Regions from separate parts of the Homo sapiens genome. Here all the other regions are linked to region 4. The links are contacts of gene promoters, found by promoter capture Hi-C in blood cells and fetal thymus (Javierre and others, 2016). All regions are on one chromosome and are shown on one strand. Each heading gives the region's core, a stretch centred on a gene start or on the middle of the fragment in contact. The rest is flanking DNA. Distances are from core to core; before and after follow the strand shown.

The links. Contacts are between HindIII fragments. The CHiCAGO score rates a contact against its expected background, and 5 or more counts as called.
Region 1: a contact is called between a fragment that was not itself captured here and the fragment with the promoter of NFATC1 in region 4, in 13 of 17 cell types (megakaryocytes, erythroblasts, activated CD4 T cells and 10 more). The highest score is 13.5, in megakaryocytes.
Region 2: a contact is called between a fragment that was not itself captured here and the fragment with the promoter of NFATC1 in region 4, in 4 of 17 cell types (monocytes, erythroblasts, total CD8 T cells and 1 more). The highest score is 7.3, in monocytes.
Region 3: a fragment that was not itself captured here is called in contact with the fragment with the promoter of NFATC1 in region 4 in 1 of 17 cell types (monocytes); the score reaches 5.9 in monocytes.
Region 5: a fragment that was not itself captured here is called in contact with the fragment with the promoter of NFATC1 in region 4 in 1 of 17 cell types (monocytes); the score reaches 8.3 in monocytes.

Annotation. Positions count from the first base shown.
Region 1 is chr18:79,958,602-79,964,082 of GRCh38, forward strand. No RefSeq gene overlaps it. Among named protein-coding and RNA genes, the nearest start is that of HSBP1L1, 3.3 kb to the right of the region's middle. RefSeq lists enhancers at 1-325, 1,451-2,135, 4,524-4,603. The HindIII fragment of the contact is 2,361 bases long and covers 1,068-3,428 here.
Region 2 is chr18:79,975,231-79,980,167 of GRCh38, forward strand. TXNL4A (thioredoxin like 4A) reads right to left here. Exons shown (of 3, transcript NM_006701.5): 2 at 2,368-2,471. Among named protein-coding and RNA genes, the nearest start is that of TXNL4A, 11 kb to the right of the region's middle. The HindIII fragment of the contact is 1,363 bases long and covers 953-2,315 here.
Region 3 is chr18:79,942,340-79,947,906 of GRCh38, forward strand. It overlaps SLC66A2 (solute carrier family 66 member 2), which reads right to left. Exons shown (of 6, transcript NM_025078.5): 3 at 990-1,123. Among named protein-coding and RNA genes, the nearest start is that of SLC66A2, 6.5 kb to the right of the region's middle. RefSeq lists a silencer at 1,926-1,985. The HindIII fragment of the contact is 6,504 bases long and covers 1-4,652 here.
Region 4 is chr18:79,394,121-79,399,646 of GRCh38, forward strand. It overlaps NFATC1 (nuclear factor of activated T cells 1), which reads left to right and starts at 1,810. Exons shown (of 10, transcript NM_001278669.2): 1 at 1,810-2,231. The coding sequence starts at 2,105. RefSeq lists silencers at 1-220, 1,646-2,045, 2,406-2,505 and enhancers at 441-560, 2,202-2,749. The HindIII fragment of the contact is 8,960 bases long and covers 1-5,526 here.
Region 5 is chr18:79,906,036-79,911,468 of GRCh38, forward strand. The region is part of intron 5 of SLC66A2 (solute carrier family 66 member 2); the gene reads right to left. Among named protein-coding and RNA genes, the nearest start is that of SLC66A2, 43 kb to the right of the region's middle. The HindIII fragment of the contact is 6,496 bases long and covers 936-5,433 here.

The sequences.
Region 1 (5,481 bases), core at 998-3,497, 560 kb after region 4:
AAACCCCTGGGCAGCTTTAAAACCACAAATGCTCAAGTGCCCGGGCCCACCCGCAGAGCACCGATAAAGGGGACTGTGCCAGTCAGGGTAGCCTTCTAAGCCTTCCCCAGAAGTTCTGATGTGCAGCCATATTTGAGAGCCACTGTTTTAAAATTCACACCTACAAAAGCTGCATGGTACAGGAGGTCCTCATTACCCACAATCATGACTTCTTGGAAAGACCACTTACTCAAACAGGACCAGAATTGCATAGTAAATAATTCATGGGATTAGAAAATAGTTGGTTGATATTGCATTAACAATGAAAATTAAACTTATGAAAATATTGCAATTATTTTAGAATAAGTAAAACAGAGCGGGCCAGGTGCGGTGGCTCACTCCTATAATCCCAAGACTTTGGGAGGCTCAGGTGGGTGGATCCCTTGAGCTCAGGAGTTCAAGACCAGCCTGGTCAACATAGTGAGACCCCCCATCTCTACTAAAAATACAAAAATTAGTGGGGTACATTGGTGTGCATCTGTAGTCCCAGCTACTCAGGGGTCTGAGGTGGGAGGATCACCTGAGCCCAGGAGGTCAAGGCTGCAGTGAGTCGTAATTCTGCCATTGCACTCCAGCCTGGGCAACAGAGCAAGACCCTGTCTCAAAAAAAGAAAGGAGCAACAGTCTCTACTCAGATCTGTATACCCAAATCTATACCCAAAAGAACTGCTTTTATATAATTTTTAAATAAAACTTTTCAAACACAAAAGAGCGTAACATAATGAAAGGCATGTATCCATCAACCAGCATCAATAATTATAAAATCGCTCTTTTAATGAGTATAAAATAAGAACTGAACTTAACGTTTAATTGGCAGCGTTTCTCCATTTCTGATAATAACAGTGCACCCTAAAATCAGCAGCGTCTTAGATTTAGGGCCTCAGAAACAAGGCCACCCACACTGGATCCGAGGGGCAACTGGGCACCTCCATGGACACCCATGCTTCATAAAGACAGCTGCACCCTACACTGGGTTGGACTGGGACGTTTTCAGCTATCCAAAATAAAACGTTGGTTTTCTAATTTAAAGCTTTGTTTCATGTCTACATTCTGCTCTTGTAGTCTGCATCTTCGCTCACGTAATTAGCTATTTCAGTCTTACCCAGACTGTTTTCTTCCCAATTGTCTGTCCTCACACCAGGGAAAGACTGGCTAATTTCTGTAACTTCAGAATACACATTAATATTCTTTAATATTTAGATTCCCATGGTCAATTATTCATCCTGGGCTAGTACTCGGCAGTTTCTCTTTTGTCAGTTCATGCGCCACCCAGGCAGCATATGCTGAGGAAGGCACAATTTCTACATTTATCCTAAGCCAAACATGAGCAGGAAAACTGAGAGCTATTCTAAACATAATTTTATCGGGTCAAAAAGAAACAACTGCTAGGCCGATCTGGCCGATGACTCCTCCAGTAGCTGTGAAATCGAGAATGCACATCATTTTCTTGCTGTGTTCCTAAGGTAGAGGAGACCACTTTGAAGACCCGCAGTCCATATTGGCATTGTAGAATTTGAGCAGAGGGCCATTTTGTTCTGTACTAAGAAAAATTCTTCTGCCTTGAGATGCTGCTAATCTGTAACCCTACCCCCAACCCTGTGCTCCCTGAAACACGTGCTGTGTCAACTCAGGGTTAAATGGATTAAGGGCTGTGCAGGATGTGCTTTGTTAAACAAATGCTTGAAGGCAGCTTGCTCGTTAAGAGTCATCACCACTCCCTAACCTCAAACCACTCCCTAATCTCAAGTACTCAGAGACACAAAACACTGCGGAAGGCTGCAGGGACCTCTGCCTGGGAAAGCCAGGTATTGTCCAAGGTTTCTCCCCATGTGATAGTCTGAAATATGGCCTCATGGGAAGGGAAAGACCTGACCGTCCCCCAGCCCGACACCCGTAAAGGGTCTTTGCTGAGAGGATTAGTAAAAGAGGAAAGAACGCCTCTTTGAGGTTGAGATAAGAGGAAGGCTTCTGTCTCCTGCTCGTCCCTGGGCAATGAAATGTCTCGGTGTAAAGCCAATTGTATATTCCATCTACTGAGATAGGGGAAAACCGCCTTAGGGATGGAGGTGGGACATGCTGGCAGCAATACTGCTCCTTAAGGCATTGAGATATTCGTGTATATGCACATCAAAAGCACAGCACTTTTTTCTTTACGTTGTTTATGATGCAGAGACATTTGTTCACGTTTTTACCTTCTGACCTTCTCTCCACTATTATCCTATTATCCTGCTGCCACGCCCGATAATGATCAATAAATACTAAGGGAACTCAGAGGCCGGTGCCAGTGTGGATCCGTATGCTGAACGCCGGTCCCCTGGGCCCCCTTTTTGTTTCTTTATACTTTGTGTCTCTTTCTTTTCCAAGTCTCTCGTTCCACCTAACAAGAAACATCCACAGGTGTGGAGGGGCAACCCACCCCTTCACTGTGTTGTCTCCATCAGATCCAGCTGAAGAGCTTTGCTCGAAAGCCAGTCCTTGGCCAGCATGGCCTCGTGCCTGTAAGTCCAGCGCTTTGGGGGGCCGAGGTGGGAGGATCACTTGAGCCCAGGAGTTTGAGACCAGCCCTGGCAACATATGGAGATCCCTGTCTCTAGAAAAATAATAAAAAATAGTAGCCGGGCATGGTGGCGTGCCTCTGTAGTCCCACCTACTCGGGAGGCTGAGGCAGGAGGATCCCTTGAGCCCAGTTCAAGGCTACAGTGAGCTATGATTGCACCACTGCACTCCAGCCTGGGTGACACAGCAAAACCCAATCCCAGAAAAAAGAAAGGCAGTCCTGTCATCTCCACAGACCACCCGGCCTATGTCGGTGAGGCCTGAGGCTGCTGTGTGCGGCGATGCTGGGTGGTCCTACTCGGGCTGCCCAAGAAGCCTGACCTGAAAAAGCAGCCAGGGCTGGAGGGACGGCCCAATATGAGCCTGGCCGATGCCGGCTGGAGAGGAGAGAGGCGTTCCCAGGTCAGAGGCAGGCTCGTCTCGTCTTCTGCAGGGCCAGTTCCAGGCTCGTGTGGGCCAGTGGGGCTCCCTGCTCGTTTAGCTGTCTGTGGTTAGGAACGCATAGCCCATGAGGACAGGGTGCCCAGCTTGAACCTGCACCCAGAGTCAGCCAGTCAACATCTGAAGATAACGGGTTCCACAGGGTGCCCACAAGCTCTCCAAAGTCCCAACGCCAGTCTGCCTTCACGGCTGTCCGAAGTGCTTTATCACTGGTGAGCTCAGTGCTGTCAAGAGCTCTGTGGCCCCTGCTCCGCCTGAGTAAGGGAGGAGCGGCAGCCAGGGAGCAGCCCCGCCCTGGAGACACCGAAAGCCCTTGGGTCTGCGCCTGCCCCCACCACGAGGGAGCCGTCCCCTGAAGCCATGAGCTTGATGCTGGGCTGTCCCTGGAGTAAAGCTTCCGGGAACTCCGTGCCTGCAGAGTAAGGGAAGAGGGGACGTTCTAGAACTTTCTGGAAGGGAGGAAGGAGGGCAGTCTGACTGGCTCCCTGCTCATTTAGCTGTCTGTGGTTAGGAAAGCTGCCTGTGGGCTGATGAGGAACCCTGTCGTGGCCCTGCCGTGGGGCACCACTGCCCATCTCCTCCCGCCTCCAGAGATGAGCGCCCTCTGAAGAGCTTGGAGGGCTGACGCCAGCCCGCTGTGTCTGCCTCCTCTCTACAGGCGTAATTTCCTTTTCCCCTAAGTTAGCTTGAGTGACTTCTGGTTCTTGACACTGAGGTGTGTTTCTGATGGAAACACCACCGGCTTGTACTCCTTGCCCCCCACGCCAGGCAGGCTTTCCTGGGTGCAGGCCGTCCACCCTGTACTGTGGCATCTTCTGGCCCTGCCTCCTCCTCCTCAGCAGCCACCCACACTGGCTTTCCCGAGAAGCCAGAAGCCGCCCGGCAGGATTCCTTAGGCCTGAATGGTCCTGGGAGTGGGCCGGGAGCCACAGCACAGCAGCCACTTTCCACCCACACCGCGTCTTTCTCAGCCGTCCACACTGGCCCCTACAACTAAGTTTGTATCTCAGCCTCTCTCAGAGACAGAAAAAAAGAGGAGGATGCTAAAAGCACACAAAAAGTGGCAAAATGGCCATGCTTTTAAAAAATAATTTTAACAGCTTCATTGAAATGTAATTCACATACCACAAAACCCACCCATTTAAAGGGCATAATTCAACAGTTTTGAGTATATTTACAGGGTTGTGAAACCTTCTTACGATCTAATTTTAGAACATTTTTGTCCCCCCACAAAGAAACCCCAGACCTCCTAAATCTCTCCGCACTCTCCCTCGTCCCTGCAGCCCCCAGCAACAGAAGTCAACTTTCTGTCTCCGTGGCCTTGCCTGTTCCAACTCTCCATGGACTTACCACTCAGGGTCTTCACGCCTGGCCTCTGCCACCCAGCGTTGTTCCGGAGGCCCGCCTGCTTCGTAGCGTGCGTCAGCGCCTCACTCCTTTGTGTGGCTGAGGAATATTCTATCATCTGCATTTTGTCACCTACTTATTGGGGGTGGACATTTGGGTGGTTTCCACCTTTTGAGCATTACTGATGCTGCAGTAGACTTGGTGCACTCGCGCTGTCGTTTCGGTATATGCCTAGGGGTGGCGCGGCTGGGCCCTGTGGAAACTGCTTCACTTCTGAGGACCCACCCGACTTTTTCACAGCACTGCAGCCTTTCACAGCCCACCGGCTGCGTGGGGGGGGCCACAATCCCCACACGCCTCTCGGACTTACGTTTGTCTCTCTGATTCTAGCCATGCTGGTGGGTTGCAGTGGGAGCTCATTGTGGTTTTGGTTTGTGTTTTCCTGATGACTGGTTGTAATGAGAAAAACCGAGAATCACATTTAAAACCTTACCCTAAAGTGGGAGTTGCTGAGAGACCAAAGAATGACTGGGCGGAGTCCAGCTTGGTGAGTAGGTGAGTTTATTAGGACTCACATGTGGGGCACTCGTGGGCAGCAGGACAACTCTAGAGATGAGCGTGCTTCTGTCCCTAAGCTGCTTTTGAGCTAATTTTCTGCCTCTTTGCGCCGTCTGTGTGATGGGCCTGCTCCCTGTGGTGGTTCTCACATCCCCTCCGGGCTGTTTGGGTTCTCAGGGACACCTGCTCCTCGCTGGGCACCGTGGCCTGGACTCACCGCCTGGCCTTTAGGGTTCAGGCCACAGACATCCGCCCTGAAGTAACCTGGCGGGAACCGCCACGCCACAGCGGTGGTGCTGGGTGGCTGTGTTTTATTTATCCGCACATGGAGACACCAGAGCTTCCAGGTGTGGTCACTGGGCTGTGCCCTAGGGATGCTGGGGTGACCAGACATAGCCCTGTTCCCACAGCGCTGCACAGGGGCACAGACATGGCAACAAGACTGGTAACCCTAAAACACCGTCCTGGGAGGTCACCCACAAGGTGACGAGCCACAACCCAGGTGTGAAAGAGGCCAGGGAAGGCCCGGCGTGGTGGCCC
Region 2 (4,937 bases), core at 384-2,883, 580 kb after region 4:
AACGTCCTATGAGAGTGGGAATCCTGTCTTATCTGACATTAGGCTCCACCACTAGACCACAAACCTGGTGGGGGCTCAAGATATATGTTTGGTGCATAAGTTAACTAAAGTACCGTTTGTCTTAAAATTCTAAATCACAGAAACAGCAGAAGGAAGTTTCATCTCCTTTTCTGAGTACAGCATCAGTCCTAAAAATATCAAACTACACTAAGTAGGCTGCTCCCGCCACCCAAGGCTGTTGCCTGCAGCCTCCTTGCCCCTCACAGCATCTCCAGCCCCAGGCTGGCCTCCACTGCACGCTGTGGGGGGCAGAGACCTAAGACGGCCCTCCCTGTTCTCACCTGAAGAATTCTGAGGGGCAAAATAGAAAAGGCCTCTATTGCCTCGAACAGGCTGTTAACAGAAATATGGACTTCAGGAACACCTGGTGTGGGCTTGGAAGGAAGTGAGGAGTGTGTTACTGGGAAACGGAGAAAAGGGGACCCCCGTTACAGAGTGGCCGAGGAACAGGGACACGGGGTCCGCAGTTATAGGAAGTCAGAGCTCAAAAGCAACACACTCGGGATATTTAGCTGCGGAAACTTCCAAGCAAAGTCTCGGAGGTGCTGCCTTCAAGAGAGGAAAGAGGCAAATTAGTGTAAGAACTGTTAACAAAAGGAATAAATTCTTTAGCCTCTCCGGATGGCCAAAGGGGCTGAAATTCAGAAATGGCTGCTGAACACACAGTAGAGAAAAGGATGAGGGTCAGCCACGCAACCTTTGCTGAAACCTAGGAAAGATGAAAAGTTCACAAGAAATGCAGGGTGCACCTCACAGATCTTCTCAACCTAACAGGAGGCACCTAGGAAGCCAAGGGCGTGTCCAGGGGAGCGTATCCCGACGCCCAGAACCACGGCAGTGCCTCACGCTTTGGCAGCCTGAGGCGGGAGGATGGCTCGAAGCCAGGAGTTCAAGCTTGCTGTGATGGTGCCACTGCACTCCACCCTGGGTGAGAGTGAGACTCCATCTCAATAAATAAATAAAACAAGGTCACTATCCTGGATTATTTGGGCAAGTCTAATCTTATCACAGTCCTCTAAAACCAGAGCATTTTCTCAGGCAGAACTTTTCAGGTCAGAGAACCTGTGTGAAAAGTTCTCAATGTGCCGGCATGCCAGTGCTGGCTTTGAGGGTAACTGGGTCTCTGGCAGCAGAGTGGCCTCAGGTAACAGCAGCAAGGAAGCAGATCTCAGACCCACCACCACGAAGAGCCAGACTCGGCCCACAACCCAAACAAGCCCCTCAAACACTCCAGATAAGCACCCAGCCCATGGTTCAGACCTTGTGAGACCCTGAGCAGGAATCCAGCGGGCCCTGCCTGGATGTCTGACTTACAGAACTGTGAGCTCAGAAAAGCGGGGTGATTTAAGCTGCTCAATGCGTGCTAATTTGTTACAAAGAATACAAAACTAACGCATACCCTATACAACCCACCTGACCTTCCTTACCGAGTAGGAGGCTCCACTTTTGGAGAATGGTCTAATGCTCATGTAGCTAATTCACCAACCTCTATGGTAACTAAACAAGTAAAAACAGCATCAGATGGTGATTTCTTTCCCCATTAAATTTCCATAATGAAATTTTTGAGCTGATAAAATAATCTTGTATTTATAAGCAAAGTAGTTCAGGTGTTCCTCTTGGATATAAAAAAGGACACCGAAGTTGATGATAACATATTTAATAAATTAGGTTTTTGATTTTTTTTTTTGAGACGGAGTTTTGCTCTTGTTGCCTAGGCTGGAGTGCAATGGCATGATCTCGGCTAACTGCAACCTCCACCTCCTGGGTACAAGTGATTCTCCTGCCTCAGCCTCCCAGTAGCTGGGATTACAGGTATGCACCACCACGCCCGGCTAATTTTGTATTTTTAGTAGAGACTCGGTTTCACCATCTTAGCCCAGCTGGTCTCGAACTCCTGACCTTGTGATCCACCCACCTCGGCCTCCCAAAGTGCTGGGATTACAGGCGCTTTGAGCCACTGTGCCCGGCCTAAATTTGTGATTTTACAACATTTTTGATGAACAGATTATAGTTCCAGGTATCTAAAATGTCAGTAACAACATCTTTCATTGAATTACACTTCACCTAGGTTTCCCCGCAAAGTTATTTCAAAAGGGTAATTTGTTACTGAGTAAATGCTAAAACTAGAATTGTTACTTTGAAAATTATTTCAAAGATTCACACTGATTGCCTGGTGATACAAACGATTTTGGGACATGACTGTACAACCAACTTCCTTCAAAATAAAATAATCTAAAGAGATCTTGATTACATTAAGCTTCCAAACTGACAATATTCAATTTCAGTAACAACTTTAAGATAACGTACCTGAAGAAAAACATGACAGTACATGGATCGTATAACTCATACATTTTGTTGAAGTCAGGCACTTCTGTAATATCCACAAGATAAATAACTGCAAAATTTTTAACCTAAAAGGAGATTAAAAAAAAAAACTGAAATAACAGAACACTTTGGCTTTCATTTTATAGAAGCACATTTATAAAAACAAAACCAAGAATTTGTGTGGATCAGGGCAATTTTTGTTTTGTTTTTTTGAGACAGGGTCTCACTCTGTCATCCTAGAGTGCAATGGTGCAATCAGCTCACTGCAGCCTCGACCTCCCAGGCTCAAGCTATCCTCCCACCTCAGCCTCCCAAAGTGCTGGGATTATAGGAGTGAGCCATCACTCCTGGCCAACGGGGCAATTTTCAAACTAATTCTTCAACATTTTTTCCCAGTGCAGCAAACACGCGGGAAGATCATGTGACACTACTGGGACCTTGGCCACCGGCTCCTTCCGCCTCACGCCACCGTTTCCCAGAATAGTTCAGGAATTGGCCGCTGGCTCCTTCCGCCTCACTTTACCATCTCCCAGAATCGCCCAGGAATTAAATTTCACTCAGGTAACAAGTTATCAAAGTCCTGCAGAAAACGTCCACAGACATATTATTTATGCTGATCTAGTAATCATCTGTATGAACCTTTACAAATAGTTACATGCATCTCACAACTGCTCTAAAATATACCTGTAGAATCCTGCCATCATTTCCCCGCAATTAGGTCTGAACACTTGCAAATATTAATAGTACCTCCAATAATACTGCATATAACACATTTTCTGTTATTTTTTCTTTAATTGCAAGTTTATCAGAGATTTAGAAAAGTCAGAAAAATAAAAAGAAAATAAGATCACCTCCAATCCCAACACCTAGGGGTGACTGCTGCTATCTTTTTTCCAGAGACAGGATCTGGTTCTGCTGCCCAGGCTGGAGTGCAGTGGCAAGATCTTGGCTCACTGCAACCTCTGCCTCCTGGGCTCAAGCGATCCTCCCATCTCCGCCTCCCAAGCAGCCGGGACTACAGGCACGTACCATCACACCTGGCTAATTTTTGTATTTTTTGTAGAGACAGGGTTTTGCCATGTTGCCCAGGCTAGTCTTGAACTCCTGGACTCAAGTGATACGCCTGCCTTGGCCTCCCAAAGTGCTGCGATTACAGGCATGAGCCACCACGCCTGGCAATATTTTTACTATATTCTTTCCCCTTTCTTATAGATATATATTTTTTAATTTGTTCATATTATTTCTGTTCAGACATAGCAAAATATGGTCATATTGTGATCGTACTACAATATTTTGTATGCTGCTTTAATTTTGAGCATTCTTTTTTTTTTCTTTTTTTTGAGACGGAGTCTCGATCTGTCGCCTGGTCTGGAGTGCAGTTGCATGATCTTGGCTCACTGCAACCTCCACCTCCCAGGTTCAAGCTATTCTCCAGCCTCAAACTCTCGTGTAGCTGGGATTACAGGTGTGTGCCACCACGTCTGGCTAATTTTTGTATTTTTAGTAGAGACGAGGTTTCACCATATTGGCCAGGCTGATCTCGAACTCCTGACCTCAGGTGATCCACCCACCTCGGCCTCCCAAAGTGCTGGGATTACAGGCGTGAGCCACAGCGCCGGCCAATTAAGAGCATTCTTTTACATACATTACCTACTTTCCAAAAATGGCAAACTTCTATGGCTGCGTGATTCATCAAATGGCTATGCCATTACTTTACCATTTGATATAGTTTGGATATTTGTCCCTGCCCAAATCTCAGGTTGAAACGTAACTCCCAGCGTTGCAGGTGAGGCCTGGTGGGAGGCGACTGGATCATGGGATGAATTTCTCATCAATGGTTGAGCGTCATCCTCTTGGTGCTGTCCTCGGGGTAGTGAGCTGAGGTTGTTCCAAGTGTGTGACACTCCGCCCCAGCTTTCACCGTGCGACGTGCCTGTTCCCCTTTGCCTTCTGCCATGATTGGAAGGTCCTGAGGCCTCCCCAGAAGCAAATGCCAGTACCACACTTCCTGTACAGCCTGCAGAACTGTGAGCCAATTAAACTTCTTTTCTCATAAGTTACCCGGTCTCATGTATTTCTTTATAGCAATGCGAGAAGAGCCTCCTACACCATTCTTCTGTTACTCTCTGATTGTTCATTAATATTATTCATCTGTGAACATTTTCCCCCTTAAATTTGTATACATACTTCATTATTTCCTAAAGACAAATTCCTAAAATTCTGGAACAAAGGATATGACATTTTAAAGGCTCTTTATAAATACTAACTCAATGCCCTTTAGAAGCTTGTAGCCACTTACATGTGTTATGAGTTAAACTGTGTCCCCAAAACAGTTGAAGTCCTAAACCCCCAAAGTGACAGCGCAGCTTATTTGGAAACGGTACTGCAGGCGTAATCAGTTAAGGTAAGATGAGGTCATACTGGAGTAGGTGGGCCCCTAATCTGGTGTGACTGGTGTCCTTAGAGGAAAATGGCCACATAAAGACACAGGGACAGGAGGCTCTGGGGGCATCGAGGACTGCAGAGGCGTCTACAAGCCTAGGAGCTCCAAG
Region 3 (5,567 bases), core at 151-2,650, 550 kb after region 4:
GTCACACTGGCTGGAGGCTGGTCTGGTTTCTACAGAGGCTGAAAGCAGCACACAGTCACCTCAGTCTAGAAACAGAAGCAGACAAAAAGGCAGAGGTGGGAATCCTCTCCAACAGGACGAAGTAGCGGTCAGGAATAGAAACACAGGGACACAGCTCCCCGGCAAGAGCTCAAATCCACAGAAGCCCCAAACTTAACAAACTCTGGGAAGATACTCTTCTCCAAGTGATAGCTGAGATCACTCTCTCTCTCAAAGCCAAAGTGAGTGCTGTCTTAGATTTAGTAATTAGAAGAAAAACAAAAGGAAGGATTTAACCCTCCTGCACACAAGAAGCCCGCCAGCCTGCATGTTCAAACAGAGTTCAGACTGGAACAAACTGTGCAATAGGCAAAAACTGGAAGAAGTATTTTCTATTTTCTAAGCTGCCAAAGGTTAAGGAGCCATGTGTGCTAAGCATGTGATTGGTCCTGCCCAGCTGTCAACACTGCAGTGTGCTCCGCATAAAGGGGCTGCCTGACCCTGCGGGGGGACTCTGGGTCTGTTTAACAAGGTCTGTGAGGAAGACCCTGGCTAAGGTACCCCTGAGTCACAGCAGAACTGAAAGGGTGTGTTTTGTGTACAGGCCACGCACACAGACGAAACGCCTGACCTGGTACCGTCTGACCTGATGGGCCAGGCACAGATGAGCACTTCTTGTTCTGACACAGAAAGCGTCTGGGATGGCGCTCACAGCCAAGAGGAACCGTGAAGATGTGTTGAGGCCTCACCCAACTTCCAGTGAAGAAACTATTATCTTGAATTGCTTCAAGTCATAAACCGTTTAACTGAAGTCATTTAACATACTGAAAACACTATCAGCTGGAGATAACAGCACCACTTGGTGAAATGAAAGCTGCTTGGATCAGGACAGATTAGAGTGGCTTTTGTTTCACCAGAGTCACCTACGCCCTGATTCCCTGCGACTTTATTCCGAAGCGCCGGCCACCAACCTGTAAAGGAGCGGCGCCTGGCGTTGAGCTCGTTGGCCACACGGACCTCGGTGCACAGCTTCAGCATCAGCAGCATGGTCAGGATCATGATGGCGCTCTGCCACAGCAGCGGGGACTCAAAGCGCCTTCCAAACCTGCGGGAGAGACACTGTGTCAGGAGGGAGGTCCACCCATGCCACTTCTCCCAGTCCCGAACCTGCAGCGGGAGAGACCCGGGTCAGGAGGGAGGCCCACCCACGCCGCCCCTCCCAGTCCTGAACCTGCAGCCGGAGAGACCCTGTGTCAGGCCCACCCACATCGCCTCTCCCAGTCCCGAACCTGCAGCGGGAGACACCTGGGTCAGGAGGGAGGCCCACCCATGCCGCCTCTCCTGGTCCCAAACCTGCAGCAGGAAAGATCCTGTGTCAGGAGGGAGGCCCACCCATGCCGCCTCTCCTGGTCCCGAACTTGCAGCAGGAAAGATCCTGTGTCGGGAGGGAGGCCCGCCCATGCCGCCTCTCCCAATCCCGAACCTGCAGCGGGAGAGACCCGGGTCAGAAGGGAGGCCCACCCACGCCGCCTCACCCAGTCCTGAACCTGCAGCAGGAAAGACTGCCCACCCACTCCCCCTCTCCCAGGCCCCAAGCGGCATCCCGGGGAAGGAGCCCAGGAGTTGGCAAACACCACAGTGACCAGGCACCTGTTGCCCATCTCCCAGACTCCAGGTGGGGTAGGGCTCCGGGGAGGGGCCGTAAGACCCCCATACAGCCTGACTCAGAACCCTTCGGCACATTTGGCGCTCCCCAGAACCAGTGGCCCAGGCACTGGTACCCGGGTCTAGTGGCCCTGAGTCCCCTCCCACAGCTCAGCCCAGGTGCCCCAGGCCCTCCCTGCAGCCTCCGGGTTGCCACCAGGCAAAAAGCCCAGTTTCTAGCTCACAGCAGCCCTGCTTCCTGCCTGGGGAAGGCGGGGATAGTGTGCAGAGCAGCAGGTGGGCCAGATGCGAAATTTCCACATGCACACACACTCCCACAGAAGAGAAGACAGCCAAGGCTCTGCACCACCCCCGCCCCCACGCCTCCCTGGCCCCGAGCTCCTCTAGCTGCAGGCTCCCAGGCCTTCTTGCTGACTTTTGACCAGGGTTGAGCATCTCTTCAGCTCAGCTAGGAGCCTCTGCAGGGCAGAACCACAGGCCAATGACTGGCAGTCTCTGCCTCCCTGCGGTCTCTGCCTCCCCAGAGCCACCACAGAGCTGGGACACATGCCTGCAGAGCCACCACCTCCAAGGCTGGGCTGTGTGTGGCACGCACTCATAGAAAGCCCCAACCCCTGACTGTTCCAGCGCGGGAATCTCAATCAGCCTGCAGTTTGGCCTGAAGGGAATTTTCAAAACTTGAACTGGTCACCAACATGTCAAAGTCAGGAGATCCTACATAACAGCCTCATTTCCCAACTTCTGAAAAACTGGAAGACCTAGCAACAACCACCACAGCCCCCACCTCTCTCCAGCTCCCATGCAGCATCCCCTTAACACGAAGCAGAAGAAGGGGGAACCCCGCAGCCCCCTCAGCAACCCCTTATCGACTCAGAGCAGAAGCAGGGGGAACCCCACAGCCCCCTCAGCACCCCCTTATCAACACAGAGCAGAAGCAGGGGGAACCCCACAGCCCCCTCAGCACCCCCTTATCAACAGAACAGGAACAGGGGGAACCCCATAGCCCCCTCAGCACTGCCTTATCAACTCAGAGCAGGAACAAGGGGAACCCTATAGCCCCCTCAGCAGGTGAGCCAGCCCAGCAGGTAAGAAGGTTCCACTTGCAGGTGAGGCTCCCACAGCAACCAGGAAAAAGCCACAGACGTTCTCCTGGGAGGACAGGGAGCCAGGATGCAGTCCTCAGAGGGTGGCCATGCTGATTCCCTCTGTGCTGGCTTCAGAGACCAAGGCCCTTCCCTGTCTCCTGGGAGCTTTTCAGCAGAGGGAGCAGCTGCCTGAGGTCACAGAGACTCAGGGAGCAGAGGGAAGGGCAGAGAAAACAGTAGCCTGGGCCTGGGGCAGACAGGGGGCCAGACAGGCAAGCAGACAAGCTGCATCTCACCCAGGTCAGCAGCCATGGCCCAGGGTGGACAGGGGCCAGGCAGGCAGGCACACAAGCTGTACCTCCAGGAATATCACCCAGGTCAGCAGGGGCCACCACCGTCCCCTTGCCTCACTGGATGCTTCCCGAGGAAGCCTCTGAGAAACACACAAGGCAAGACTAAGAGGCAAACAGAAGAAGGGAGGGTGATGGGCCCGGGGATAGAGGACGGCCAGCAGCAAAGAGGCAGCTTGAACAGGGTTTTCTGGGCCTGAGGCACAGGCCGGAGGTGCAGGGACACTGCAGGAGCAGGAGTGCAGGGGGCACGGGCACTCTGCCCACAGGCTGGCTCCAGCCCCCACACCGGCCCCCTCCAGGCCTCAGCCTCTGCACTATAAAGCACGATCGCAACCCCCAAGGCTGGAGGATACAGCCAAGCTCACAGTCACTTCCAGGGCCGTTCTCCACTGGCTACCAAGCGGCCTGGGTGCCGGTCAACCCACCCACAGAGACCTGAGGCTGAGGAGGTGACGCTGGGCAAGCATCTAAAATAGGCCAGTCCCCTGGGACACACGGAGGCCACTTCACACCACGTTCACCTCCAGCAATGAGGCTGCACGTGAGCCATTTTGGCCACTCTGTGTGAAAGGCCACCTGCATTTTTTTAAATGTTTAACAGAAGCAATGAATGACGAGACGGAGGAGGAGGCGGGTGAATCAAGGTTTGAGCTTCCCCATAATCCACACATCAAAAATCAAATCTAGAGAAACTCGATATGCACAGTAAAGAATGAGGCCTTTTAAAATGAAGTGACAGGGTGCCCGGGGAGATAGTAAACTAATTTTAGGGTGAAGACAAAGAAAAACACAAAATTTCAAAAAGCACAGTGTTCCACAAAAGATGCACAAGGAACAAAATGAAAACGAAACAGAATCCAGCAGCATTAGTAATTTTAAAAGCTAATTAAAATAGATGCCACATTTACTTCTCAACTTAACTTTTTCTTCCTTTAGTGATAACAGTCTGTGCTGGCCATGAACTTAGGAGAGCACTTTTCCTCTCCTGCCGGAGGGCGTGACTCCCATGCCTCTTCTCACGGCAGGTGCCAGGCAGCCCACCTGTGTGGTGCAGGAGCCTGCTCCTCGGGAAGCACCAAGATACCTCGTCTAAGGTGGACTCTGCAGGTGATCATGCCCAGGTGCCCATCCACAGGGAGAGACAGTATAGAGGGTGCCCCATAACTGACCAGGCCCACAGAAAAACTTCTCCATGTTCCAAAATCTCACAGAAAAACTCAAGCAGGGCTGGGCACAGTGGCTCACACCTGTAATCCCAGCACTTTGGGAGGCCAAGGCAGGTGGATCACGAGGTCAGGAGTTCAAGACCAGCCTGGCCAATATGGTGAAACCCCGTCTCTACTAAAAATACAAAAATTAGCTGGGCGTGGCAGTGGGCGCCTGTAATCCCAGCTATTTGGAAGGCTGAGGCAGGGAACTGCTTGAACCCGGGAGGCGGTGGGTGCAGTGAGCCGAGATTGTGCCACTACACTCCAGCCTGGGCAAGAGCGAGACTCTTGTCTAAAAGAAAAAAAAAATCCAGCAGAAGAGAAGCTTTGTAGCTTTGTATCTACTCTTAGGCACCACTAAAGCTATCACCTTTAGTAACAAAATGTTATGACCTCTCTGATACAATGTTTTCATTCCTCCATCTAAGAGTGCTCCAGCCTGGGTGCTACTGTGGGTGGAGCTGAGGCTCCCAGGGCCCTGCAGCCCAGTGTGGCCTGATCCCCGCCTGGCCTCTCCGCTTTTCCTCCACATACTCACAGCTGGCAAACACCAGCTATGAGGCATCATTTAGCCCTTCTCCTGGCTTCTGGCACCAACCTGCCAAATCCTGAATGTTGGCATTCCACAGAGTGTGATCTGCTGAATGCTGGTTTTGCAAAATGGTAGTAAGGACTGTAAGAAACAAAAACATGAGTGACCTATGTTTCAGAATCCCTGGGTTTGTACTGTTAAAGCAGCCCCTGCAGGACTGCAGAGCCCCATATGCCATGCACCCCAAATCCCCAACGGGGAGCTGCCCAGAGGGACTGGAGCTCTGAGGACCATGCCCCAACAGCTTTGGAGGCGTGAAGATTCGAACTCCACCTCTGCTCTCCCCGTCTCCCGCCCCTTCTCACCAGAGCCCAGCCCAGCCCCACCTCTGCTCTCTGCCCCCACCCCAGCCCCTTCTCACCGGAGCCTGCCCCCGCCCCACCTCTGCTCTCCTGCTCCCACCACCCCCAACCCAAACACCGAGTGTGCCTGCGCATGCGTGGAGCTGGGGTTGTGTGTGATGCATCCCGCGTGTCACTTCTGCTAAAGCACAAATCCTCTGCCCTACAAACCATGAAATCAAAGAGGCTGTGAACCTACAAAGCCTGGAGAGGGGAAGCCAGGAGTGGGGGGTCACAAGAGGCTCCCAAGAGAGAAACAGAAGGGGTCATCATCCCCCTCTGCACAGCAGGACCTGGGGACCGGG
Region 4 (5,526 bases), core at 560-3,059:
CCGCCCCGGCCCCGGCTCCTCAGGAGCCAAGGGCAGCCTCGCCAGGTCGGTCCCGGGCTCGAGGACCGCGGCTGGGGTCGAGGGGCTCAGTCTCCCACGTGACCGGCTGGGCGCGCCCCGCCAGACCCGGCCTCGGGATTCCCTCCTCCCGGCGAGTCTCCGCCCGCCCCGTCCTGGAGGTGGGGAGAAGGAGGGCGGGGCGGGGGGGACGGAAACTCTCCCCGCCAAATCCTGGCCCCAGGCCTGGGGACACTCGCGGCGGGAAGATTTGGAGGGGAGGGGAGGGGGAGGGGCGTGGGGGCGCGGCCTCGCTGGAGTCCCCCTGACCCCCCGACCCCCGCCCACCGGCCTGGGCGTCCTCCCGCGGCCCCTCCTCCCCTCCCGGCGCCCGGTGCTCTGGGGCGCGTGCCACGCCTGGCTCGGCGCCGTAGGGGCCCCCGCAGGTAGAGACCCCTGGAAATGGCCTCGACGCCGCAGGAGCGAGGCGGCCACCACCCCGCTAATCCGGGCACGTCTCTCCAGGCCGAGGCCTGCGGTGGAAAAGCCGGGGTTCCATTTGTGCTGAGTCGGGGCGGCCGAATGGAGCCAGGCCTCGGGACGCGGGACGGACGGGCTCTGGCCGCGCACCTTCGCGGGCTCTGCAGCGCCCGACCGCCTCCCCCGGCAGGGAGGAGGCGCTTGTGGGGGGCACCCACGGGGCACAGTGATCCCTGGGGGTCTGCGGACCTCCTGGGCCCCGCAGCAGACACGAGTTTAGCCTTTGGGTTTAGTTTAAATCACATAAGGGTGTCGTGCAATCGATTTATGGTTTCTACACACCAGACACTTTAACCTCCAACCCCCCCCATCCAAAGCCAACAAGAAAATGCGGTGCCGTGTTGGCAGCTGAGCTGCGCCCGAAGAGACGCAGGGAGACGTAAGAGAGGAAAGTGTGAGTGGCCGGGGGGCCTCCCCCCGTCAGAAGTCGCGCAGTCGCGCCCATAAAACGCCCCCTCCGGGCGGCTAGGGCAGGTGAGCGCGTCCCCGGGCCTCCCCACGCCGGCCCCTGCCACAGGCCGTCTAGGTCGAGCAGATATTTACAGAATAAAAATGACAATAACTCGACGTCCCGGGACGGCCACGCAATCTGTTAGTAATTTAGCGGGATGGGAATTTCCTTTCTAGGGCCTGCCAGTGAAGCGCTTTTCCAAATTTCCACAGCGGGGGAAGCCTGCGATTTTACATAATGACTTCAGCATGCCGGGCTTTCTCGACACCCCTCCCCGGCCCCCGGCCCCCGCCCCCCGCCCCTTTTCCAGCAGGGCCGGGCTCCCTCCGGACACCCGCGTGGACTCAGGCGTCCCGTCTGGCCCGTTCGCCCCCGTTTCCCCCGCCAGCCCCAGCGCCCCCCTGCCCGGCCCCCGGATTCCCCGTTCCCGCCCCTACGCCCCCATCCCCTCCCCGTGCGCCCCTCCCCGTGCGCCCCCCTCCCCGTGCGCCCCCCCTCCCCGTGCGCCCCCCTCCCCGTGCGCCCCCCCTCCCCGGGCGCCCCCCTCCCCGGGCGCCCCCCCTCCCCGTGCGCCCCCCCCTCCCCGTGCGCCCCCCCTCCCCGTGCGCGCCCCGCCTCTTGCGCCCCTGCCCCCAGGCGAGCGGCTGCCGCGGCGCGGGGAGGGGCGGGCGCTCGGCGACTCGTCCCCGGGGCCCCGCGCGGGCCCGGGCAGCAGGGGCGTGATGTCACGGCAGGGAGGGGGCGCGGGAGCCGCCGGGCCGGCGGGGAGGCGGGGGAGGTGTTTTCCAGCTTTAAAAAGGCAGGAGGCAGAGCGCGGCCCTGCGTCAGAGCGAGACTCAGAGGCTCCGAACTCGCCGGCGGAGTCGCCGCGCCAGATCCCAGCAGCAGGGCGCGGGCACCGGGGCGCGGGCAGGGCTCGGAGCCACCGCGCAGGTCCTAGGGCCGCGGCCGGGCCCCGCCACGCGCGCACACGCCCCTCGATGACTTTCCTCCGGGGCGCGCGGCGCTGAGCCCGGGGCGAGGGCTGTCTTCCCGGAGACCCGACCCCGGCAGCGCGGGGCGGCCGCTTCTCCTGTGCCTCCGCCCGCCGCTCCACTCCCCGCCGCCGCCGCGCGGATGCCAAGCACCAGCTTTCCAGTCCCTTCCAAGTTTCCACTTGGCCCTGCGGCTGCGGTCTTCGGGAGAGGAGAAACTTTGGGGCCCGCGCCGCGCGCCGGCGGCACCATGAAGTCAGCGGAGGAAGGTAAGCCCCGCGCGGCCTCCGCCCCCGGACCCCTGCGCCCCCCACGGCCCGGGCCGCGCCCCCCGACCCCGCCCCCGTCGCCCGCACGGAGGGGTCCGGGCCAGAGAACGAGGTCGGCCGGGTCTGTGCGCCCAGGGAGGGGCGCGGCGCGGACCGGGAACGGCGTCCCCCAGCTCCCAGCAGCCCGGTTCCGAGCGCGCCTTCTGCCAATAGGTGTCTCCTCTGCCCCAGCGCTGAGGGCGCGAGGCGAGGCCGCCGCGGGTCCCGCCGAGGAAGCGGCTCGCAGGCCGGCGATTTGGGGACGGGCGAGGCTGGGCCGTCAGGACCACAGAGGGCACGTGGGAGGGAGGAAGGGAGGCTTCCTTGGGAGTGAAGGATGCCCCGTGTCTTCCTGAGCGAGGCAGAGCCACCCTCTGGCGCCAAGATCGCGGTTTGGGGGTTCTGCGCCCCCCACCCCCACCCCGAGCTCGTGGCGGCGTCTCCCTCGCGCCGCGCCCCTGAATTCCCCAGGGCCGAGCCCGTCACGCCGGCTCCTGGACCTGCAGGACCAAAAGATCCAAAGCGCGGCCGCAGCACAGCCCCGAATTTAAGCCATTTTGAAATCCTATAGGCAGGAGTTCCAGCCAGAGAAGATGTTTCAGGCAAGTTTGAAAAGGAACCGCCAAGTTTCGAGCTGCTTCTTTATAGTGAAAAAAAGATGGCACAGTGTGGGTCCCTGAAACCCGGTGTGGGGGGCGCTGAGACCCCCCTGCGGCGCATCTCACATTCCAGTCCCCCACCTTAGCCCGTCCCCGGCACACACCCCTGGCGATGCCGGGTGGGCTCCTGCAAGTGGCTTTGAAAATACCCTTGCAGAGGTGTGAGCATACGAGTTAGGGATTAGGGATTGCAATGCTAATGGAAATTGGAAGACGCTTTTCCAAATTCCTTACCAGCTCTGAAATATTTTATATAATTTATTTAAAGAGCGCCAGCACACCTGCCAACATATGTACTTCATAAGGGCAGACGTCCTTCCGAGCGCTGCCGCTTCCTGCGCGACCCTGATAACTGCGGGGCTTGCTTGAGAACCGGGCTCCCCCAGCTCTGGAAAACTCGCTGGTCTTAGCAGAGCTGAGCACAGGGCCGTGAGCTCCACGGAGGGGGGTCCGTGTGGTCGGTGCCCTGACGCTTCACGGGACGGGAGGTAGACACCACTTCATCCCAATGTTAGAAAATGTTGACATGTTTAAACCATGTCCCGTGTCAGTGTTTTACACAATGTGCTCTTGCTAGTAGCAGAGTTTAAAAAATTTTTTTTTGTTGGAGTTTCGGTTTTAAATCCTGGGACACTTACGCCGCAGTGTTCATTATCACTCCCTTTAGAAAGGCAGGTCTTTCCAAGTTCAGATCTCTGTACCTGAAGAGCCGGTGGCCGACCTGTAGTAAGGAGCCCCTTTCTTTTACGCAAGGAAAAAACACGACGGGGCAGTGGCTAGTTTTCGTGTTTCCTACTGAAGAAAATAAGCTCGAAAAGGTCCCTGCTGCAAGGCAGTGCGCCGGGCAGCGACGCCCGACCGACATGGGTGTATTTTATGAGGGCTGCAGAACTGGGCCAGCCGGAAAGTGTGATCTAGTCCTTGATACACACAGGCCGGCAGCATGGGGACACGCGTGGTTTCCACACCAGCCATCGCTGAGACCACCGGGAAGAACTCTGAGTCCTTCTGAGTAGGCCCCACGAGGCCATTCCTGGCCCATCTGAGGACCTGGGCGCCTCCCCTGCGTCCCTCGGGTTTCGGGACCATCTGGGTGGAAGCTCATTAGGCGTCGTGGTTCCTGAAGGCCCCGGGCTTGCTTCCTCATGGAGAACGCAGAGAAGTACAGGCCTGTAAGTAGCCACCCAGTCAGAAGTCGCTCCAGACACAATGCCCCACGGGCTGGGGCCAAACAAAGCTCACCCTGTTCTCTGCCACTTAACTTCACAGCGTTGTTTCCCAGCTCAGATTAGAAAATGGCAGGGCGCTGGCACCCCGCTTCATCACACCCAGCGGGGCTTCTGTCTCCGCAGACATCCCCAGCCTCTGGGAGGATGCGTCCAAGCTAAACATTTCCATGGAGACACCCAGTGTCTGTGGAACGGGCAGCTTTGAATCTGGACCAATAGCTCTGAACCATTTGCAGGAAGGAAGCCCAGCACTGGGGCGGGGGAAGGGGGGGCTCCTAGGAGCAGCAGGGGAGCCGCCCCACCGACCCCTTCTCTGGGATGGAGACCAGTGCAGTCCTAGGACAGCAGCAGTGAGCCTCCATCCCTGCAGGGCCCGCGGCCTGGGGCCACCAGCAGGCGGGACAGTTTAGCAAAAAGTTTTAGTCTAAACAGATGATAAGGGCTGTCATTTGTGTATAATTTTATGGTGGGGGTAAAAAGGTGGCTGGAGTTTTAAAAACAATGTACAGGCCGGGCGCCGCGGCTCACGCCTGTAATCCCAGCACTTTGGGAGGCCGAGGCAAGCGGATCACGAGGTCAAGAGATCGAGACCATCCTGGTCAACATGGTGAAACCCCGTCTCTACTAAAACTACAAAAATTAGCTGAGAGTGGTGGCGGGTGCCTGTAGTCCCAGCTACTCTGGAGGCTGAGGCAGGAGAATCGCTTGAACTCGGAAGGCGGAGGTTGCAGTGAGCAGAGATTGCACCACTGCACTCCAGCCTGGGTGACAGAGCGAGACTCCGTCTCAAACAAACAAAAACCTGTACAATGGAAAGAGAATGAAACGTTGTGGCTTCTCAACAGAAAACAGAACTTCCACTTGCCCAAGGTCGGCAAAAGCAGCAAAACTACAACAAAACAACGCTCCAACATCCATCCCAAAGTCAGAAGTATTATTAGAAACTAAATCAGGCCACACGGAACGATGGCTTATCACTGGAGAAAACCAGCCAGTGAAAGGGTCGCGGGAGAAGCCCGGGGACGACCCTGGGACTGGAGGGTTTCTCGCCTCTGGAAAAGGCAGTGCCCGCGGGGCAGGCCAGAGGGAGCGCTCCGAGGAGCTTTGGGGTTGCCAGCCTTGACACGCGCACCCCTCCGCCCGGGCCGGCTCCCCTCCGCCCTCAGACTCCCACCATCCTCCTACTATTCCACATGTCGGGTGTATATGGTGCGGAGAGCCCGGGGGAAGTTAGAACACGCGGCGGGAGAGGCAGGCCCAGGGCGGCCTCAGCTAAGCAGCCCGGCTTTCCGGATCCCCGCCGCGCACAGGCTCGGGCCGCCTAGGGTGGGACCCGAACTCGCCTTCCCGCCCCGCTCAAGGAGGTCA
Region 5 (5,433 bases), core at 2,934-5,433, 510 kb after region 4:
CAAATTTTCAAATGTATGGGCATGAGGTTGTTCATTGTACTCTTTTGATGCCTGTGGGGTCTACAGAATATCCTCTTCCATACCAAATACTGGGGATCTGTGCTTTCTTGTCATTCTGGCCACTGGTTTATCAGTTAATGATTTGTTCCAAAGAACCAGCTTTCAGTTTGGTTTTTTATGTTTGCTGCAGTTTTGTTTTCATTTTTGTTGCTTGGTGTTAGCTCCGTTATTTCCTTCCTTCTGCTGGCTTGGGGTTCCTTTGCATTTCATTTTATAGTTTCTTAAGCTTAGATTGATGATTTGAGAACTTTTTTCTAAAATCAGTATTTAATACTACACATTTAACTCTAAGCATTGCTTTAGTTGCATCCCACAAATTTTGATATGGTGGTGTATTTTTCAGTTCAAAATATTTTCAATAGTTTGCTTTGCAATATCCTCTTTAACAGATTGTTTAAAGGTGTGTTGTTTAGCTTCTAAACCTTTGGAGACTTAAGATCTATTTCTGCTATTAATTTCTAGCTTAATTATATTATATTCATAGAAAATACTTTGCACAATTTCAGTTCTTTTTTAAAAAAATTCTCATGACCCAGGATATGGTCTGTTTGGTGAATGCCCAACGGGCATCTGAAAAGAATGCGCACGTTCACTTGGCTGTTGATGGTGTTCAGATTTTCTACATCCTTGCTAACTTTGTCTGCTTTTTCTATCAGTTACTGAGGAAAGCTGGAGTCCCTAAGTGCAACTGGGGATTTGTCTTTGCATTTCTGTCAGTTCTGACCTTATGGACTTCCAGGCTCTGGGGTTCCATGCATACACACTCAGAACTGTTGTATCTTCTTGGTGAACTCACCAGTTTATCATGATGCAATGTCCTTTTTTATTCAAGGCAAATGTCCTTTACTTTGCCTGATATTAATACAGCGACTCCAAGCTTTCTTTGGTTCATATATGCATCTCTCACTGCATGGCCTCCTGGTCAATACATCCTGCACCCCAGCATCCGCCATGGATGTAATCAGACTTCAATTGAGTTTGCTGTAAACAGCAGGTAGCTGAGTCTTGTGTTTCTTTTTAAATTAATCTGAACATTGCTGTCCTTTAATTGGTATGATTAGGCCATTTACATTGAATGTTATTATTGACAGGTTTGAATTTAGATCGACCATTTTAATTTTTTTTGGTCTCAGCTTGTCCCTACGGTTTTATTCCTGCCTTCTTTTAGATTATTTGAAATTTTTAAAATATCCCATTTTAATTTATCTATTTGGTTTTTCACTGTATCTCTTTGTATAGTTTTTTTTTTTTTTGGTTGTTTTTTTTTTTTTTTTGAGAAGGAGTCTCGCTCTGTCACCCAGGCTGGAGTGCAGTGGCGCGATCTCAGCTCACTGCAAGCTCCGCCTCCCCAGTTTAAGCAATTCTTCTGCCTCAGTCTCCCAAGTAGCTGGGACTACAGGCGCCCGCCACCACACTCCGCTAATGTTTTGTATTTTAGTAGAGATGGGTTTCACCACGTGGCCCAGGCTGGTCTCAAACTCCTGAGCTCAGCCAATCCACCTACCTCGGTCTCCCAAAGTGCTAGGATTACAGGCGTGAGCCACCGTGTCAGGCCTGTATAGTTCTTTTAGTGCTCTAGGGCATTGGTTCCCAAATGGGAGTGATTATGACCCCATCCTCACACCCCTGCCCAAGGAAACATCTGGCAATTCCTGGAGACATTTTTAGTTGTCACAACTGGAGGAACACTGCTGGTATCTAGTGTGTAGGGGACCACGGATGCTGTTAAACATCCTATAATACCAAGATAGTCCCCCACAATAAGGGATTCTCCAGTTCAAAGTATCAATAGTGCTGCTGTTGAAAAATCTTATTCTAGGGACTATAATATATTTAACTTGTCAAAGTCTCCTTAGGATCAACATTTTATTACTTTAAGTGGAATGCAGAAGTCTTAGCACCAAGTTCACTATCGTCTCCCTCTTTTACATTGGACTTGTCACGTACAGCTACATTCACTAAAAACCCCACCAGACAATGTTATATTTTTTGCTAACTTTCACACATATTTTAAATAACTTAAGAAGAAAAATATATATATTATATTTACCCAGATATTGGCCATTTCTGTTGGTTTTCCTTCATTCCTGGAGTCCCAAGTTGCTCTCCTCCAGCGGAAGAACTTTTTTTAGTATTTCCTGTTGAGTAGCACTGCTGCCCATGACTTCGCTTTGTTTCCTTTCATTCGAGAAGGTCTTTATTTTGCCTTGATTCCTAAAGGAATTTTTTTTTTTTTCCTGAATATAGAATTCTGGGTCAAACGTTCTTTTCTTGCAGCATCTGAAAAATGTGCCACTTCCTTCTGACCTCCCTCGTTTCTGGTGAGAAACCCATAGTAATTTGGATCCTTTTCCTCTTAACTGCTTTCGACATTTTTTATTTGACTTTGATTCTTACCAGTTTGATTGTGATGTGATATGTTTGGGATTCACTGAACTTCTTACATCTATGTTTGTCTTTCACCAAATTTTGGGTGTTTTCAGCCCTTATTTCTTCAGCTATTTTTCCTCTGTGTCACACTCTCCTCTCCTCTGGGCTCAGATGACAGAATATTAGACCCTTTGGAATTTGTCCCTGACTCTATTCATGTTTTTGTTACTGTTTTTCAATTGCTTCCTGTTCAGAATGGACATTTTTTAATGATCTGCCTTCAACTTCACTATTTCCTCTCATCTCCATTCTACAGTTGTGTCGTGAAATATATTATTTAGATTATTGTATTTTTCAATTTAAAATTATCTATTTGGTTTTCTTTAAACTTCTATTTCTCTATGGAGATGTTCGGTCTTCCCGTTCATTCCAAGAACGTTTGCTCTTACCTGTTAGAGCACAGTTACAACAGTGACTTCAAAATCTTGGATAAGTCTGATCTGTCAGCCTGAGTTGGTTTCTATTGACTGTCATTTCCGTTGGCAGCTGAGAAACTCAACTCTTCATACATAACTTTGGTTTTTATCTTGGACATTCTGAACATTATGCAGTGAGATGTGAGTCTTCCATGGTCCTATCAACAGTGTTGCTTTTCCTGCTACCAAGCACTTCATGTGGTTAGATTCAGGGTGTGAGGTCTGACTTGTTTTTGGTGGACTGCAGTTCAATTTAATTCCATTTCAAAACCTCCCTTTTGATCTTTGGATCTGTCTTTCATGTGCAACACTCAGAGACAAGACTGGGACTTGAGCAGTCAACTGTCCACAATGACACTGAGTTCACAAAGCTGTTGGCATGTAGTTTAGGGCCAGATCTATGCATGTGTAGTTCAAGGGTGAGTCCAGAAACTTCACTACAGTGTCCCCAGTCTTCCTCACCACGATGTACCCAACCTTCCCCATCAGAGTACCACAGAGTCCTCAACCTTCCCCACAACCTCACCAGAGTCCCCAACCTTCCCCACAACCTCACCAGAGTCCCCAGCCTTCCCCACAACATCACCACAGAGTCCCCAACCTTCCCCACACCCTCACCAGAGTCCCCAGCCTTCCCCACCATCTCACCAGTCTCCAACCTTCCCCAGCATCTCACCACAGAGTCCGCAACCTTCCCCACATCCTCACCATAGAGTCCCCAACCTTCCCCACCATCTCACAACAGAGTCCCCAACCTTCCCCACCATCTCACAACAGAGTCCCCAACCTTCCCCACCACCTCACCAGAGTCCCCAACCTTCCCCACATCCTCACCATAGAGTCCCCAACCTTCCCCACCATCTCACAAGAGTCCCCAACCTTCCCCACCACCTCACCAGAGTCCCCAGGCTTCCCCACCATCTCACCACAGAGTCCCCAACCTTCCCCACACCCTCACCATAGAGTCCCCAACCTTCCCCACCATCTCACCACAGTCCCCAACCTTCCCCACAACCTCACCAGAGTCCCCAGCCTTCCCTACAACCTCACCAGAGTCCCCAGCCTTCCCCACACCCTCACCAGAGTCCCCAGACTTCCCCACACCCTCGCCAGAGTCCCCAGCCTTCCCCACCATCTCACCAGTCTCCAACCTTCCCCACACCCTCACCATAGAGTCCCCAACCTTCCCCACACCCTCACCAGAGTCCCCAACCTTCCCCACATCCTCACCATAGAGTCCCCAACCTTCCCCACATCCTCACCATAGAGTCCCCAACCTTCCCCACATCCTCACCATAGTCACCAACCTTCCCCACCATCTCACACCAGAGTCCCCAACCTTCCCCACCACCTCACCAGAGTCCCCAACCTTCCCCACCACCTCACCAGAGTCCCCAACCTTCCCCACCACCTCACCAGAGTCCCCAACCTTCCCCACCACCTCACCAGAGTCCCCAGGCTTCCCTACCATCTCACAACGGAGTCCCCAACCTTCCCCACACCCTCACCATAGAGTCCCCAACCTTCCCCACCATCTCACAACAGAGTCCCCAACCTTCCCCACCATCTCACAAGACTTTTTCTAGTTCACTCTCTTCTAAATTTGAGCATTTTTTTCGCATCACACATGAATGAACTAAGCTGTAATTTAAGGCAAGTTTAAGCTGTAATTTAACATTTTCTCATTCTAAAAGAGACCATATGAACCACACAAATCCTATATAAAGGACCAAAGACAGGTGTAAAATAGAGAAACGTGGCACCCCGGAGAATCTGCTGACTGTGTCTATTTTGCCCAGGGTTTCCCATATGGCTGGGCGTGTTCCAGTGTAGACGGAGGAGGCCAGGGCACGTTTGTTTTGGCTGCTTTGACAGACAACGTCCCTCCTCACACAGCGGCCACACAAGTTAACTGTGAACAACTTTCAAACTATCTTCAGTGAAACAGTCAAAGCAAGCAACCCAGACCTAGAGAGACAGCTTTTAGCTCCCACTGTAAAATCAGGTAAAGCCATGTGGTCTGCAACTTGGAATGCCCCTGGCTGCCAGGTGTGGCAGGGGAAGGGCTAAGAGGCTCACTGCAGCACCCACACCACGGCCTCAGGTGGGGACAAGTGGGAAGGTGATGCCTGAGCCCAGCCCCCAGGAAGGAAGAGCAGAGCCTGGAACAGCGTGGGCTGCTTTGCTGTCTGGAGGGAAATCGGGGGTCGGGGCCACTCCTGAGGCCCCAACCACACAGGCAGAGCCCAGGCCCATTCGGAGCCCACCCTAGGAGGGGGCTGGTTAGCCCTGAGGGGCCAGTGGGGGCCTGGACATCTTTCCGTCCCCTTCCCTGCTGACGCCTCCAACACACAGAACCCCAGGGAGCCAGGCAGGCCAGGAGGCAGGCGGCTGGCCCACGCCCCGTGAGGATTCCGCAGTGGCAGAGCTCAGGTCTGCACACACCAACAAAGACAGAGGGCTCCAGAGTTCCAGCCGGGACACAGCCCTGGTCAGACGGGGGCCGGCAGGACGTGCAGCTGAAGCC